Regions from separate parts of the Homo sapiens genome. Here regions 2 and 3 are each linked to region 1. The links are contacts of gene promoters, found by promoter capture Hi-C in blood cells and fetal thymus (Javierre and others, 2016). All regions are on one chromosome and are shown on one strand. The core of a region is centred on a gene start or on the middle of the fragment in contact, and the rest is flanking DNA. Distances in the headings are between cores, read along the strand shown.

Region 1 (4,598 bases), core at 1,877-4,376:
TAACTTGTGGGACTTTGGGCAAACCCTTAATTCTCCCTGGCACTCAGTGTCTCCATCTGTCAATTGAGGGGGCTGGATTAACAGGATGATCCTCCCTCTGGCACTAACATTCTGAAATCCACTCCCGTGCTTTCTCCTAGTTAACCTCCCTAACTTTTCCTGCAGTCCATGGTGTCATGGCTTATACTCCAGCTTTCTCCTCCATTTCCTTTCCCCCAAATTCCTTCTGCTTTTCTCCAAAAACTCTAGGGTTGGGGAATAGGGTATGGGTGGTGGTTAGTGTGAAGTTTTTTTTTTTTTTTTAAACACTTTTGAGTTAATTTTTAAGTGTCCCTAACTTATACTTTTGTTTTTAACAGAAATACTTTGCTCATCTGTTTTTATTGTTTAGTCCCTCATTGAAGTTTAGTTTTGTAATTTCCTTTGTTGTCATTCTCATTGTTCTTAAGCCAGAATGAAGGCAAGAACTATAATTAATTAGAATGCTCATTTTCTTTAACCTCTGTTATCCAAATTATTTCTGATATAATGCCATACATAAGGGTGCTAATGGTGTTTCTTGACATTGGTTATAGTTTGTTTTAAATTGGGACTGTATATTTCTGACTTGTTAAATAATGGAAGATTTGGGGCATTACTGAATGCACATAATCAATCCCTTAAAACATGCTGAAAATGGAAAATAGTAAAATTTAAAGCTTTTTATACTACATGATAATAGCATTTTTTTGTACCAAAAATGTAGAGCCAAATTTTCCACTCTGAGATTTATTTTTTCTGTCATGAACCTTTCAAAGTAAGATCTCTGAAAATGACTAATAGCCCAGTGTTGATTAAATTGTATAATTACCAGAAGAGAAAAGGGTGGCAGTGCTCAGAGAATCAAAGGAAATTAATATCTGCTGTGTGACTTTGGGTAAGTCACTTAACATTCCCGAGCTTAATTTTTCTGTAAAATGAGGACCATACTACTACCTGCATTAGCTACCTCACAGCTCTTTTGTGAGGAGTACACAAAAATGCCTACCTTCGCATAATAATGACATGAGGCCTTACAAAGTATAACTGAAACATAATAAAATTGAATGATGCATATGAAAGCACATTTACACATTATTCTTTCAAAATTACCAAGTTATACCATAGAACTGTAAGGAATTACTTTATTAGACAAAGCATTAGTGTTACTCACTTCTCCCAAGAGATTGTGCCTATTGCTCCACCTGCTTGACCAAGCTATGTTGCCTGTGCCATCTTTCCTATCATCTTATACTGTTATTCATACATCCTTGGATTGGCTTCTTTCTTAACTTTTTATGGTACATGCCTTATCTCAACCAGAACATATATTGCTTCTTTACATTCCTCTTGGAGCATAGTCAGTGTGAATGTAAAAAGGAAGCGGGATTGTTAGAGTGTATGACTAGAAAGAACGTGGAGAAAGTTTGAAGAGAGTGTTCTAAACACTGGGAAGTTATTGGATGTTTTTGAGCAGGTGACTAACCTAAGCTCACCTGTGCTTTGGGAAAACACATCCGGTGTTCATGAGAATAGACTGGAGGAAGGAATAACTGGAGGCTAGGAAGTGAATTTCAAGGAGATGGATGGCATGGTCCAGAAGAAAAACATGGAGAATTTAGGAAAGATGGCAAAAGCAAAATAGACAGGTTAGGCTGTTATTTGGTTGTGGATGGTGAAGAAATCCAAAGTACTTACTAGTATTTTGTCTTTGTGACCAGCTAGGAAAAACAGACGGTTAAGGATTTATCTTCTTAAAGAGGAATGGAGTGTGCAAAAGTGGGAGAGGAATGTGATCTTGATAGTACTAGTTAGTACTGACTGGGTCTTTCTTTGTACTTTTAATTTTATTTAATACACAACACCAATTGTAGCCATTTTGATTTTCTTTCTTCTCCAGCGGACTTTGAATTTAAGATTTTTCTTTGTGATCCTGTGCAAGCCTAGGTTGTTTAAGAAAAATACACGAATAGTTTCTCAGACACTTCCTCGTAGCAAAGCACTTATTAATGCTTGTGACTACAAATAATCAGCATTTCTTAGGTTTCTTCCTGTGTACTGTATCTCAACAACTTTTTGAAATATATTTTAGGAAAAAATTTCTAGTTCTCTAAAGAGGTGAATCTCAATGGGTGGTTAAATTTCACAAGGGTTGAAAGATCTTGTGGTATAAAAGCTCTGCTTTTAAGGTCGTGCTACATCAAAGACAGTTCAACGATAGCATGGAAGAAAGTGATATATAAATAACAAGTAACTCATACTTAAAAAGGCACTACTACGTTTTGTTTTTTATATCTGTAATGAGATAGGTAACTGGTTAGTGGCTAGTGAATTAAAAGCGAATCTTAGAGAAAGGGGAAAAGAACGCGTTTCCCACAAAACGCGTATATTCAGTTCTCATTCTATGATATCTGCCATTTGATGTGGTTCTGTTCCCCTCCTCCCACTTTCAAATTATTTGTCGCGCGCCAGTGGTCCCAGCTACTCGGGAGGCTGACACAGGAGGATCTCTTGAGTCCAGGATGTCAAGTCTGTAGTGAGCTATGATCCCGACACTGCATTCTACCCTTGGCAACAGAGCGAGACCCTGTCTCAAAACAAAACAAAACAGAAACAAAATAAAAAAACAATGTTTTCAAGAAGCAGAGACCAAGCCCCAGGCGGAGTCGAACTCTAGCAGGACAAGAACGCGGTCGGTCCCTTTCCCCCACCTGATCCACAGGTGCAGGGGTGGTTGCCTAGGTGACGCTCAGCGCATACTCCAGGCCAGGCGGCTCCGGACACCGCGATGCGGCCGGAGTTCAACAGCAGGTGACGGCGGGAAAGCAGAGCGGCCACATAGATGTCCCTGTACTCGGTAACTCTTGCCCTCCCTTGTTCTTCTCGAAGGTCCTTTTTTTTCTCGTGCACGGCTGACGAGACAGGCGCAAGCTAACTTCCCCCGCACTCCTCCGTCGGCCTCTAGAGGGCCAGGGCTGCGGCGCCTACAAAGCCTCGGGATCACAGCTGGGCCTCCTTAGCTACCGGCCGGGCGACAGCGCGCCTGCGCACCGGCGGGGTCACGCGCGCGGCGCGGGGGTGGGCCTGCGCCGGAGGGGCTGTCATTTGCAGCGCTGGTCGCAGCCCTCAGCTGCGCCGGGCGGTTCCGGCTCCTCCCTCTCCTTGTGCCTCAGCGCCACCATGGTGCTGGAGTCGGTGGTCGCGGACTTGCTGAACCGCTTCCTGGGGGACTATGTGGAGAACCTGAACAAGTCCCAGCTGAAGCTGGGCATCTGGGGCGGTAAGCGAGAGGGCGCGGCCAGTGGGCTGCGGGCGCTGAGGGCCCAGCCGAGGGCTGCTCCGTCCGGGATTCTGCCCGGGCCCTGCTCCCTGCGCCGCCTGAGACTCCCCATCCCGGTGCGGCAGGTGCTAGATGCGGGAGCCTCTGCCGCCCGCGGATTCTCGGGGTCCCAGTCCCGACTCCGGCTGGGGAGATGCGGCGGGATCCCGCCCGCGCTGCCAAAGTTCCCACCTTTCTCGTCCCCCGAGGCCAAGCCCTGGCCCTGCTGTCCCCGCCCTGCCCGTTTCTGTGGTCCTCTCGCTGCACTCAGGGTGGCCCCTTTGGCCCTACAGCATAAAAACAGAGCCCTTTCTGTTTCGGTATCGCGTGGAGTGAGCATGGTTGTCTGGTCATATACGCTCGAAGTGGCACTAAGAAAAAAGGAGGAAGTTGCATCTCGCAGTTATCTTCACTATCATTTTACAGGGAGCAAGAACTGGGTTCCTTCTCTTTAGGATTACCGGGTTTGGAGAGGAACGGGCAGGAGATCTTTAAGATAGGCGTGTGCTTAGGGATTCTTACTCTTAATGCTTTCAGCTCCTGTGAAAATGATTTCTTCCTTTAATATTTACTTTTCCGTCAATACGAAGAGGATTTTGAATTTTGTTTTGGAGCAATAGAGAGAAATTCAAGCCTCGACCAGCATCGTCATTAATTAGGTGTCTGCTTGGTTGCATGCTCAGGAATTTATGCCAACGTTTTTATCCTGGAGATTAAGTGTATAAAAGTATTCAGGAAATAGTGTACTTAAACATACACTCTTCAACGAGCTTAATCGTTTGCATGAATTACGTGTTAAGCTTTGAGGACTTTGGGACTTTCTCACTCCACAAAAGGTTTGGGAACTTTGTCAGCTTTGGAGGAAAATTCAAAAAACGACTCAAATGTATGGATCTGCTTTTAATTCAAGCAACAACAAATAGCTATAGACTTCCCCTGTCCACTAGGGTAACCACTAGCCACTGTAGCTGTGGAGCACTTGATATGAGGTTAGTGCTAATTGAGACTTGCTGTATGAATTAAAACATCGTTTTGAATAAGCATTACTCCTAATGAAGTAGGAGAAAAAAATAATACCTCAATAATTTTTATGTTGCTTATGTGTTGAAATAATATTTGAATATATTGGGTTAAATTAAATATAATATTAAAGTGTATTTCCCGTGTTTTTTAGTTTTACTTTTTTTCTTTTTAAACTTGGCTTCTAAAATTTATAATTACGTATATGGAACATATATTGGGCAATGCTGTTTATACCCTG
Region 2 (4,560 bases), core at 2,061-4,560, 2.4 Mb after region 1:
GAGACTCCATCTCAAAAAAAAAAAAAAAAAAAAAAATTGAACAAGGCCGGGCGTGGTGGCTCACACCTGTATTCCCAGCATTTTGGGAGGCCAAGGTGGGCAGGAGTTCACTTGAGGCCAGGAGTTCAGGACAACCCCGGGCAACATGGCAAAAACCTGTCTCTCCAAAAGTACACAACTTAGACATGGTGGCACATGCCTATAATCCCAGCTACTCCAGAGGCTGAGGCACGAGAATCACTTAAATCAAAAAGTGGAGGCTGCAGTGAGCTGAGACCATGCCACTGCACTCCAGCCTGGCAACAAAGTGAGACCCTGTCTCAAAAGAAAAAAAAAAAAGGAACAATCTAAAAGTTCAATAAAGGATTGTTTAATATATACATTATCCATAATGAAAATAATAGCATTGGAATGTATTTATTGACTTGAAAAAGAGTTCATAATATATTTTAATTATTTATTTTTATAATATAGATTCCCATATCTTTCCATAGACTGTAGAGGGTGAAGCCTCAGAATCTGTATTTTTATTTATTTATTTATTTTTGAGACACAGTCTCACTCTGTTGCCCAAGCTAGAGTGCATGGTGTGATTTTGGCTCACTGCAACCTCCACCTCCTGAGTTCACGTGATTCTCCTACCTCAGCACCCCCAAGCAGCTGGGATTACAGGTGCCCACCACCATACCCAGCTGATATTTGTAATTTTAGTAGAGACGTGGTTTCTCCACGTTGGCCAGGCTGGTCTCGAACTCCTGACCTCGGGTGATCCACCCACCTCAGCCTCCCAAAGTGCTGGGATTACAGGTGTGAGCCACTGCACCCAGCTCATATTTTAAATGAAAAGAAGAAAATGGAGATTATAAACCACTAAGTACATTATCTGATTTTTATAAAGACTTATATGTGCAATTTATACATAAAATATATATGTGTGTGAATATATATATATATATAATCTGAAAGGCTATACATAAATATGTTAATAATAATTATCTTTTTGGCTTACTTGTAGTTTGTAATGTTTCAACAATAAGTATGGATAATTAACAAGATAGGGATAAAAAGATAAGTAATAGGATGGCTTACTCGAAACCAAAGCAAACACTGATCAAGCTTATTAAATAATAAAGTTACTAAAATGAAGAAGGAACTGAAGATCTTAAAAAAAAGAAATCACATAACTATATATGATTTCCAGTGATTTTCTGCCACCCTGTGGGGAATTCTGCACATTGCAGAACTGAAGAAGCAAAGTATGAAACTACAAAAACTTCTGTAAATCAAGATGAAATTTCTTGGCCCAAGTAGTTGTTTAGCTAAAGCTCTGTTGATCAGTTTTGTTTTCTCTACTAGCTATTTAGTGAAATTGCTAGACTAGGATAAAAAGAATACCTAATACTTAAATGTGATTACAATATGACAACCAAGGTCCTAATACATATATATGAATTCATCTCACAAAAACCCTATAAGGTAGGTACTATTTTCTTCCCATTTTATCAAAGAGACGGACTTTAATCTACCAATGGTGGGTAAATGTTGCCAAAGCAATGTGAAATCCAGGCAGAATGCTGCATTTTTAGTCAATGATTTAAAATTTTGAGCTTTTCTGTTCCCCTCAGGCCTGATCGTACCCCAATGGAATCACCCAAATACTTGATGCTGAGCCTTTCTATGGATTTATCAGATGAAACTTTGGAAAGGGACTTTTTTTTTTTTTTAAGACAGGGTTTCGCTGTCACCCAGGCTGGAGTGGAGTGGCGCGATCTTGGCTCACTACAACCGCCGCCTGCCAGGCTCCAGAGAGTCTCCCACCTCAGCCTCCCAAGTGGCTGGGACCACAGGTGCATGCCACCAAGCCCACCTAATTTTCTTCTTTTCTTTCTTTCTTCCTTTCTTTCTCTTTGCTTCTTTTTCTTTCTTTCTTTCTCTGTCTCTTTTTTTTTTTTTTTTTTTAAGAGATGGGGTCTCGCCATGTTGCCCTGAGGTCTGGCGATCTACCGACTCGGCCTCTCAAAGTGCTGGGATTACAGTCATGAGCCAGCACGCCCAACTGAGAGAGACTATGATGTTCTCCAAACAAATCTCATTTGGTTGAAACTCTACAGCTGAGTATGGTCTAATTTGAGTAGTTTACCTTGAGTACTCTAACCATGGTCTATAGACCTGGGCTCTTCTGAGAACTGTTTGCAAATGGTTCACAGAGAGAGAGTAGAAAACTCTATGTCAATTTTGCAGGTAATTTTATGGCTGTTAACTCTAACGATAAAAAGTTTTGACTTGGACTTTGTATGTCTTTTCATTTTTCTGTTTTATTAACTTGTCAAAAACTAATTGAAAATTGAAAAAAATAAACCGACCGTTCCCCCAGTGAAGAGAAGCACTGCTGTAAAGCTTTTCACACTCAAATATTACCAAACTCTAAGGTCGCTTCTGAGGCCTAACTCCCCAAAATGATGCCTCGGATATTTTTCCTCGCCTTATTTCTTTTTTTTCTTTTTCTTTTTTTTTTTTTTTCCTTTTTCCTTTTATTTGAGACGGAGTTTTTGCTCTGTTGCCCAAGCTGGAGTGCAATGGCACGATCTCGGCTCACTGCAAACTCCAACTCCGCCTCCGCCTCCGCCCTCGCCTCCTGAGTAGTTGGGATTACAGACGCGCGCCACCACGCCCAGCTAATTTTTGTTTGTTTAGTAGAGACGAGGTGTCACCATGTTGGCCAGGCTGGTCTCGAGCTCTTGACCTCCGGTAATCCACCCGCCTCGCCCTCCCAAAGTGCTGGGATTACAAGCGTAAACCACCGCGCCCGACCTCCTCCCCTTATTTCATCCATTTTATAATTCACATTATTGATCGCTGATAATTGCACCTATTGTAATGATACTGATAATTGCACCTGTTGTAATAATATTGATATTGATAATTGCACCTATTGTATTACAATATTATTATTGATATCGATAATTTCACCTACTGTAATGATCAATAAAGGCAGGCAGAAAGAAAACAAAAGTAACTGAAACTACCAGGCAGCGTCCCTGCGAACAGCAAAGAGGGAAGAAACGCCTTGAGGCGTAGTAACGCCACCAATAAGGAGTCGACGCGACGGGTCCGCCCACAGGCAAGGAAGGCCGACCCCGCGAGTGCAGGCGCGAGCGCTAGCCCGTGACGTCTGAGGGGGTTGGGGGGATGCTGTGTGGGTTTCAAGAAGACGCCACGCCTCCGCCGCCGCCACGCCCCCGCCGCCTCCACCGCCGGCTGCCGCGCCCGGAGGAGGTCGGGATGTTATCACTTCCGCCGGGGCTTCTCACTGTGTCCGGGTCAGCTGCTGCCGCCGACGCCGTACCGCTGCGGCCGGGGGATTGGGCCGGGGTCTCCACCGCCGACCGAGGGGAGCGGGCTCCGCTCGGCCCTGCTTTTTGCGACCTGGCCGTCAGCCCCACGTCGCCGGCCTGGAGGGGCGAAGAGGACGAGGGGGCCAAGGCTTCCTCCGGGGTGAGTGCGGCCTGGGAGAACTCGGCACGGTGGCTCCGGAGCTGGACTGGGAACCGGCCTAGGGGCGAAAGTCTGTCGGGCGCGTGCCCACGACGTCCGGGGAGAGGAAACCCAGAGAGTTACCCTTGGTAGGGGGAGCCATAGAACCTGCTCGGGAGGTGCTTCCTGGATCCCCGCCCTGCTTAGGTCCCCGCCCTTGGCTTGGGTCCTGTTTGTATTTGGCAGTTTGGCCCCCCACCCCGTCGCTTTTCCGTTTCTGGTAGTTGTGCTCGGGATGGAACCTTGCCCCTCCTCCGCTCCCCCACCCTTTTACCCTGGTGTGGGTGAAGTGGCTGGGCTACGATGGTTCAGTATTTATGACCAGCGTCCGTCCTGGTACAGAACAAAGAAACTTGGACTTCTGGTATGCCTCGTAACCGCGGGGAATAGACACGGAAGCAGCATAAGTAATCAGGGCTTTAATAGATCTTCCCTAGTACGCTAAACCAAATACAGAGTGTGTACGTCAAAAGCCGAGTCCCCGCGTGAATCTAGACACAACCCTTTCTGTTTAAATACCTGGCAAAATGGTTTGGATTTCTGGATGCATTTCATGCCGCTGGAGAGTTACTTGTCTGTGTCTTGTGAGCTCTTTGACGAAACAGCTTTTCCGGTGTTGCATCAAGATAGTTACGGTGCCTCCTATTTATTTAATTGAATAAACTATGTGATTGCATTTTAGTGTTGCTTTTTTCATTCTCACCTTCTCTTGATTAGGATCTCTATTTCACCTAATACCTGATTTCGTATTTTCAATTAAATGTAGTTTTTCTAACATTTTATAGGAATCTCTGCAATTGTAGAAACAAATTCTGTAATTTGTAAATGGATGTTTCCTCAAAGTTACAACTGACCTTACCCAATTAAGTTACCCCTGCAGACTAGTTTCTTGATCATTTTGCACATATTCTTAGTTCTTTTTGGTTTACATTTTCTCTAAACTCTATTCCTAGTCTTCATATTCTCTAGTGCAGCCTAATACTGCTGGGCTTAGACCGGAAGTATGACAGATCCACTTCTGCAAAC
Region 3 (4,826 bases), core at 469-2,968, 2.4 Mb after region 1:
AAAAAAAGAGAAATATAAAGGAGTACGGGAAAGTTCCAGAGTGGAGGTGGGAACTGGTATTTTAAAGATGACGGTGGTCAGTTTGAGCCTCATTTAGTAGGTGTTATTTGAGCAAAGACTTGAAGGAATTAAGAAAATTTGCTAAGTAAATATCAGGAAGAGCATTCAGGCAGATAGGAAAGCCAATACAAATGCTTTTAGGCCTGTCATGTTTGAGGAATAGCAAGGAAGCCAGTGTATCTGGAGAGGGATGAGCAAGAGTTTTGGGGGTGGAGGGACAAGAAGATAAAGTCAAAGAGATCATGGTAGCCGGATCATTGTAAAGGCTGATAGAAGCCATGGGAGATTTTGAATAGAGGAGAGGTATGTTGTAACTGAAGTTTTAGAAGATCACCCTGGCTGTGAGTTGTGATTAGAGTGTAGGGGTGAGTGTAGAAGCAGGGAAATCATTTAGGAGATTTTTGCAGTAATCCAGATGACGAGAGTGGCCCAGGTCAGGGTGATAACCGTAGGGATGGTGAGAAGTGGTTGGATTCTGAATGCATTTTGAAGGTAGGCCTTACAGTATTTGCTAGGAATTGGATATGGAGAGTGAGATAGAGGGAGTGGAGGATGAAATCAAAGGTTTTGCCCAAGCTCGTAGAAGTATGGAGTTCTTTAAGCCACGATGCAAAAGATAACAAATAGAGATGTTGAGTAGGCAGCTAGATTCAGGAGTGAGAAGTTCTATGCTATATGAATTTGGGGATCATCAGCAGTGGTACTTAAACCATGAGAATAAATGTTATCCGTAAGGAATGGGTGTAGACGGAAAGCAGCAGAGGCCTAAGGACTGTGTCCTGTGATATTAAGAGTTTAGCGAAAACGGGATCAACCAGCAAACAGTATTAAGAAGGATGAACTTGTGAGTTAGGACAATCCGAAAAGGGCAGTGTCCCAGAAGCCAAGGTAAGATCCTGTACGAAAGAGGAGGGAGTAATCAGCTGTGTCCAATATTCTGAGTGAGGCTAGAGAATTAGCTTTAGCATTGCCATTGATGACCTTCACCAACCTGTTTCCTTAGAGTGCTAGAGGCAAAAATTAGCTTAAGAGAAAATAGGAAAAAAGGAATTGGGAGACAGTGAATACAGACAAAACTAAGGGATTTTGCTGCAAAGGGGAACTGAGAAATAGGATGTAGCTGGCAGGGGATTTGGGTTGAGGGGTTTTTGTTTTGTTTTACTTTTTAAGGTGGGAGAAGTAGCCACCTATGTGTTTGCTAATGGAAATGATCCGCAGAGAGGGAAAATTTGATGGTGAGGGAGAGAAGTAACAACTGAATTGTCAGAACAATATCCTTGAGTGAATTAGAAGACAATGCCTGATACAAAGGTAGAAGGATTGGATTTAGATAAAAATAGGTATAGAGTTCAACTATAGTGACAGGGAGGGAGAGTATATGGGTACAGGTTGGGCATCCCAAATTCAAAATGCTCCAAAATCCAAAACTTTGAGCACCAACATGACACTGAAAGGAAATGCTCTTTGGAGCATTTCAGAGCTTGAATTTGGGGTACTCAATCACTAAGTATATACGATGCAGATATTCTAAAATCCAAAAGACTTCAGGTCCCAAGCATTTCAGATAAGGAATGTTCAACCTGTATAGCTATTGGTAGGTAGCTGGATGTGGCTGTGAGTCTGGAAGTTATTGCTGCAGTTTCCTCAGTGAAGTGTAATACTTTGTGTCATACTCAGATACATTTCTAATATATTAGCACTTTAACATACTACCAAGTATTTCACTCAACAGATACTTAATAGATACTACATACGTTGTTCTAGTTGGTAAATATGTAAATGAACAGAAGTCCCTGTCTTCAGTGTGTCATCTATTTTAGTAGATGGAGACAGAATAAGCATATATATGTTAGCTTCAGTTATTGGTATGAATGAAAATAAAGCAGTGTGAGGAAGAAGGAAGGTAATTCTTTCTTATAGGTTGATTATAGAAGGCCTTTCTGATGGAGTAATGCTTGACCCAGAGATCTGAATCAAATGAGAGAGTGAACTATGCAGGTATTTGGAAAGAATACTGTCAGCAAAAAGAAGAGCCACCACAAAGGCCCTCAAGCAGGATCATGCTTCCCCTGTCAAAGAACAGCAGGGGACCAGTATGACCAGAGCAGAGTGAGAGGGTGAGTGGGCGAAGATAGGGAAGTAGGCACTGGGGGGCCCAAATCACATAGGCCTTCCAAGCCATGGACTCTGTGGTTTTCACTGAGATGGGATGCTGCCATTGGTGGTTTTGAATAGACCAGTGATGTGATTTGCCTTATGTTTTAAAGTCTTAGTGTGGCTACTATGAGGGTGGGGTTGGGATAGGCAAGACTGGAAATAAGGAGACCATGAGTTATCACATTAACTTTAGTGACAGATGATGGTGACTTAGGGTAATAGCATTGAAGATGGTAGAAGCTGTCAGATTCTGGCTATAGTTAGAAGGACGAGCTGAAAGGTTGGCTGATGGATTGGATGCCAGGTAAGAAAAAGAGAAGTTACTCTTGACTCAGGTTTTTGAGCTGTTACAGGAAGACTATGTTTACTGTTACCGAGGTGGGTAAGACTGAGGACAGAGCATATTTGCAAGAGTAGCATCAGAAACATGGTTTTTGACAAATTGAATTTGAGCTACCTACTTGATATTTTTATCCAGTGTCAAGCAGGCAGTTTTATATATGGGTACAAAGGGAGAATTGAGGGCTGGAGATACAAATTTGAGAGTCATCACCAGATAGTAGATGGTATTTAAAGCCGTAAGTCTGGATGAGGTAACTAAGAGAGTAAAGTATGTGGAAAATAGAGGACCCAAGAAAACTTAGGGCAGTTCAACAGTTACAAGTCAGGGAGCTGAGGAGGAACCAGCAAAAGAAAATAAAAAATACAATGGTATCCAGTGACATGAGAACTGAGAATGCTGTCTCAAAGCCAAAGAAATGTTTCAAGAAGGCAGAAATGATCTGTTGAATCCAGTGCTAGCAAGGTGTGAAATGTAAGGACTGATGGCTGGCCATTATTTTTGCTGAGTTTTATCTGATGATTGCTCCTCAAATGTATTTTCCCCCATCCATCTCCAGACTGAAAGGGCCATGAGGTCAAGATCTTACACCTGACGTGTAGTGGAAGCTCAGTAAATATTTATTGACTGTGTACTGCTGCCACCCTTTTCGAGCCCCCATCCCTCATCTGTTTCTAAATCACGCACTGAAGCCCAGCTGTCTGACCTTTCCTGCCTAAAATTCTTCAGTGACTCCCCACTGCTTGCACCTATCCTGCCAAACAACTCCATCTATGCTGTCTCTTTCAGCTTCATCTCCTGCCACTCCCTATTCGTACTTATGCCCTGATAATGTAGAACAGTTTATGTTTTTCCCCACAAACATTTCATCCTTCCATGGCTTTACTTATTCTATTCTGTCAGCCTCTGGAATGACTTCCCTCCTCTGCTTGGCTAAAGTCTAGCTTAAAGAACCTGGAAGCTTTTCTGAGCCAGCTCACTTCTACAGGCAGCCTCCATGGTATGCTTTGTATCTTTATCCCAGTTCTTATCTTTTTGTATGTTTGTTACATTCTCTAGAGTATAAATTTTTAGGATTGGGAGCATGCCTTTAATCATCATCTTCTCTCTGGAACCTGTCACAGTGCCATTCTCTTGGTAGGCACTCTGTAAATACTGAATTTAGAGAGAACAGGAAAATAAAGGGGCAGACATGCAAACATGAGCTGAAGATTTTACCAGTGACTTGACAGCAGGTAGAAAGGACAGTACATGGAAAATTCTAGACTAAGTCAGAAGGCAGACATTTGAAGGAAATGGTAAAGACATTTTAATAAATATAACAGCTATACTGCATAAAGGAGTATAAATGCCCATGTCAAAATCATGGGGAAAAAAACTGGAAAATCATTTGTAGCAATTCCTTGTAATTCTAAAATGATTATCTAGTAATGTGCAACCACTAAGCGTTCTCCTAGTTCTATATTAGAATATTTGAGGTAGATGATATTATATACATAATTTATGATGTTACAGTATGATCTTTTTTAACAATTTTATATTAAATTTTTAGGACATCAATGCAAGCTTGAATAAGAAAAACAAATTCTTCCTCCTAAGCCATGGCATATCAGTTATACAGAAATACTACTTTGGGAAACAGTCTTCAGGAGAGCCTAGATGAGCTCATACAGGTGGGAGACTGAATTAAAAATCAAACATTTTTATCTTGATGGGTTTACAGTAATTCTTGTCATATCACTTAGGCAAAGAGATATGAGGTAAAATATCTTGGACTATTTGACCCAGCAAGTCAGTAACACTGATTAAATTACCTCAAATTCTTGTTTATTACACTGTCCTGACAACAGGACACAAAACATGATTGAATGATATCATTAAATATAGCTAAATCTGGGTACATGCAGTGTTTCATGCCTCTAATCCCAGCACTTTAGGAGGACAAGGTGGAAGGATCGCTTGAGGCCAGAAGTTTGAGACCAGCTTAAGCAACATAGCACCACCCATCTCCACAAAAAATAAAAAAATTAGTTCGGTGTGGGCGCATGCCTATAGTCCCAGTTACTCGGGAGGCTGAGGTGAGAGGATGGCTTGAACCCAGGAGTTTGAGGCTTAAGTGCACTATGATGGTACCACTGTACTCCAGCCTTGGTGACAGAGCAACATCCTGCCTCTAAATAAATAAAGTTAAATCTTCAAAAATTTTTGTTCAACATAAAAATTGAGATTGTTGGTTTCCCCCTTCTCAAATTTAGGGAAGAAAGTCATA

What was found. Contacts are between HindIII fragments. The CHiCAGO score rates a contact against its expected background, and 5 or more counts as called.
Region 2: a contact is called between the fragment with the promoter of BNIP2 here and the fragment with the promoter of VPS13C in region 1, in 1 of 17 cell types (non-activated CD4 T cells). The highest score is 7.4, in non-activated CD4 T cells.
Region 3: a fragment that was not itself captured here is called in contact with the fragment with the promoter of VPS13C in region 1 in 1 of 17 cell types (activated CD4 T cells); the score reaches 5.8 in activated CD4 T cells.

What each region holds. Positions count from the first base shown.
Region 1 is chr15:62,058,975-62,063,572 of GRCh38, reverse strand. It overlaps VPS13C (vacuolar protein sorting 13 homolog C), which reads left to right and starts at 3,126. Exons shown (of 85, transcript NM_020821.3): 1 at 3,126-3,298. The coding sequence starts at 3,199. It overlaps VPS13C-DT (VPS13C divergent transcript), which reads right to left and starts at 3,070. Exons shown (of 2, transcript NR_135690.1): 1 at 2,730-3,070; 2 at 1,139-2,605. RefSeq lists an enhancer at 2,815-2,864 and a silencer at 2,915-3,264. The HindIII fragment of the contact is 3,439 bases long and covers 701-4,139 here.
Region 2 is chr15:59,688,070-59,692,629 of GRCh38, reverse strand. BNIP2 (BCL2 interacting protein 2) reads left to right here and starts at 3,310. Exons shown (of 10, transcript NM_004330.4): 1 at 3,310-3,495. RefSeq lists a silencer at 3,033-3,542 and an enhancer at 2,956-3,604. The HindIII fragment of the contact is 5,510 bases long and covers 2,400-4,560 here.
Region 3 is chr15:59,651,610-59,656,435 of GRCh38, reverse strand. GTF2A2 (general transcription factor IIA subunit 2) reads left to right here. Exons shown (of 5, transcript NM_004492.3): 2 at 4,110-4,230. The coding sequence starts at 4,159. Among named protein-coding and RNA genes, the nearest start is that of GTF2A2, 3.5 kb to the left of the region's middle. The HindIII fragment of the contact is 3,604 bases long and covers 1-3,520 here.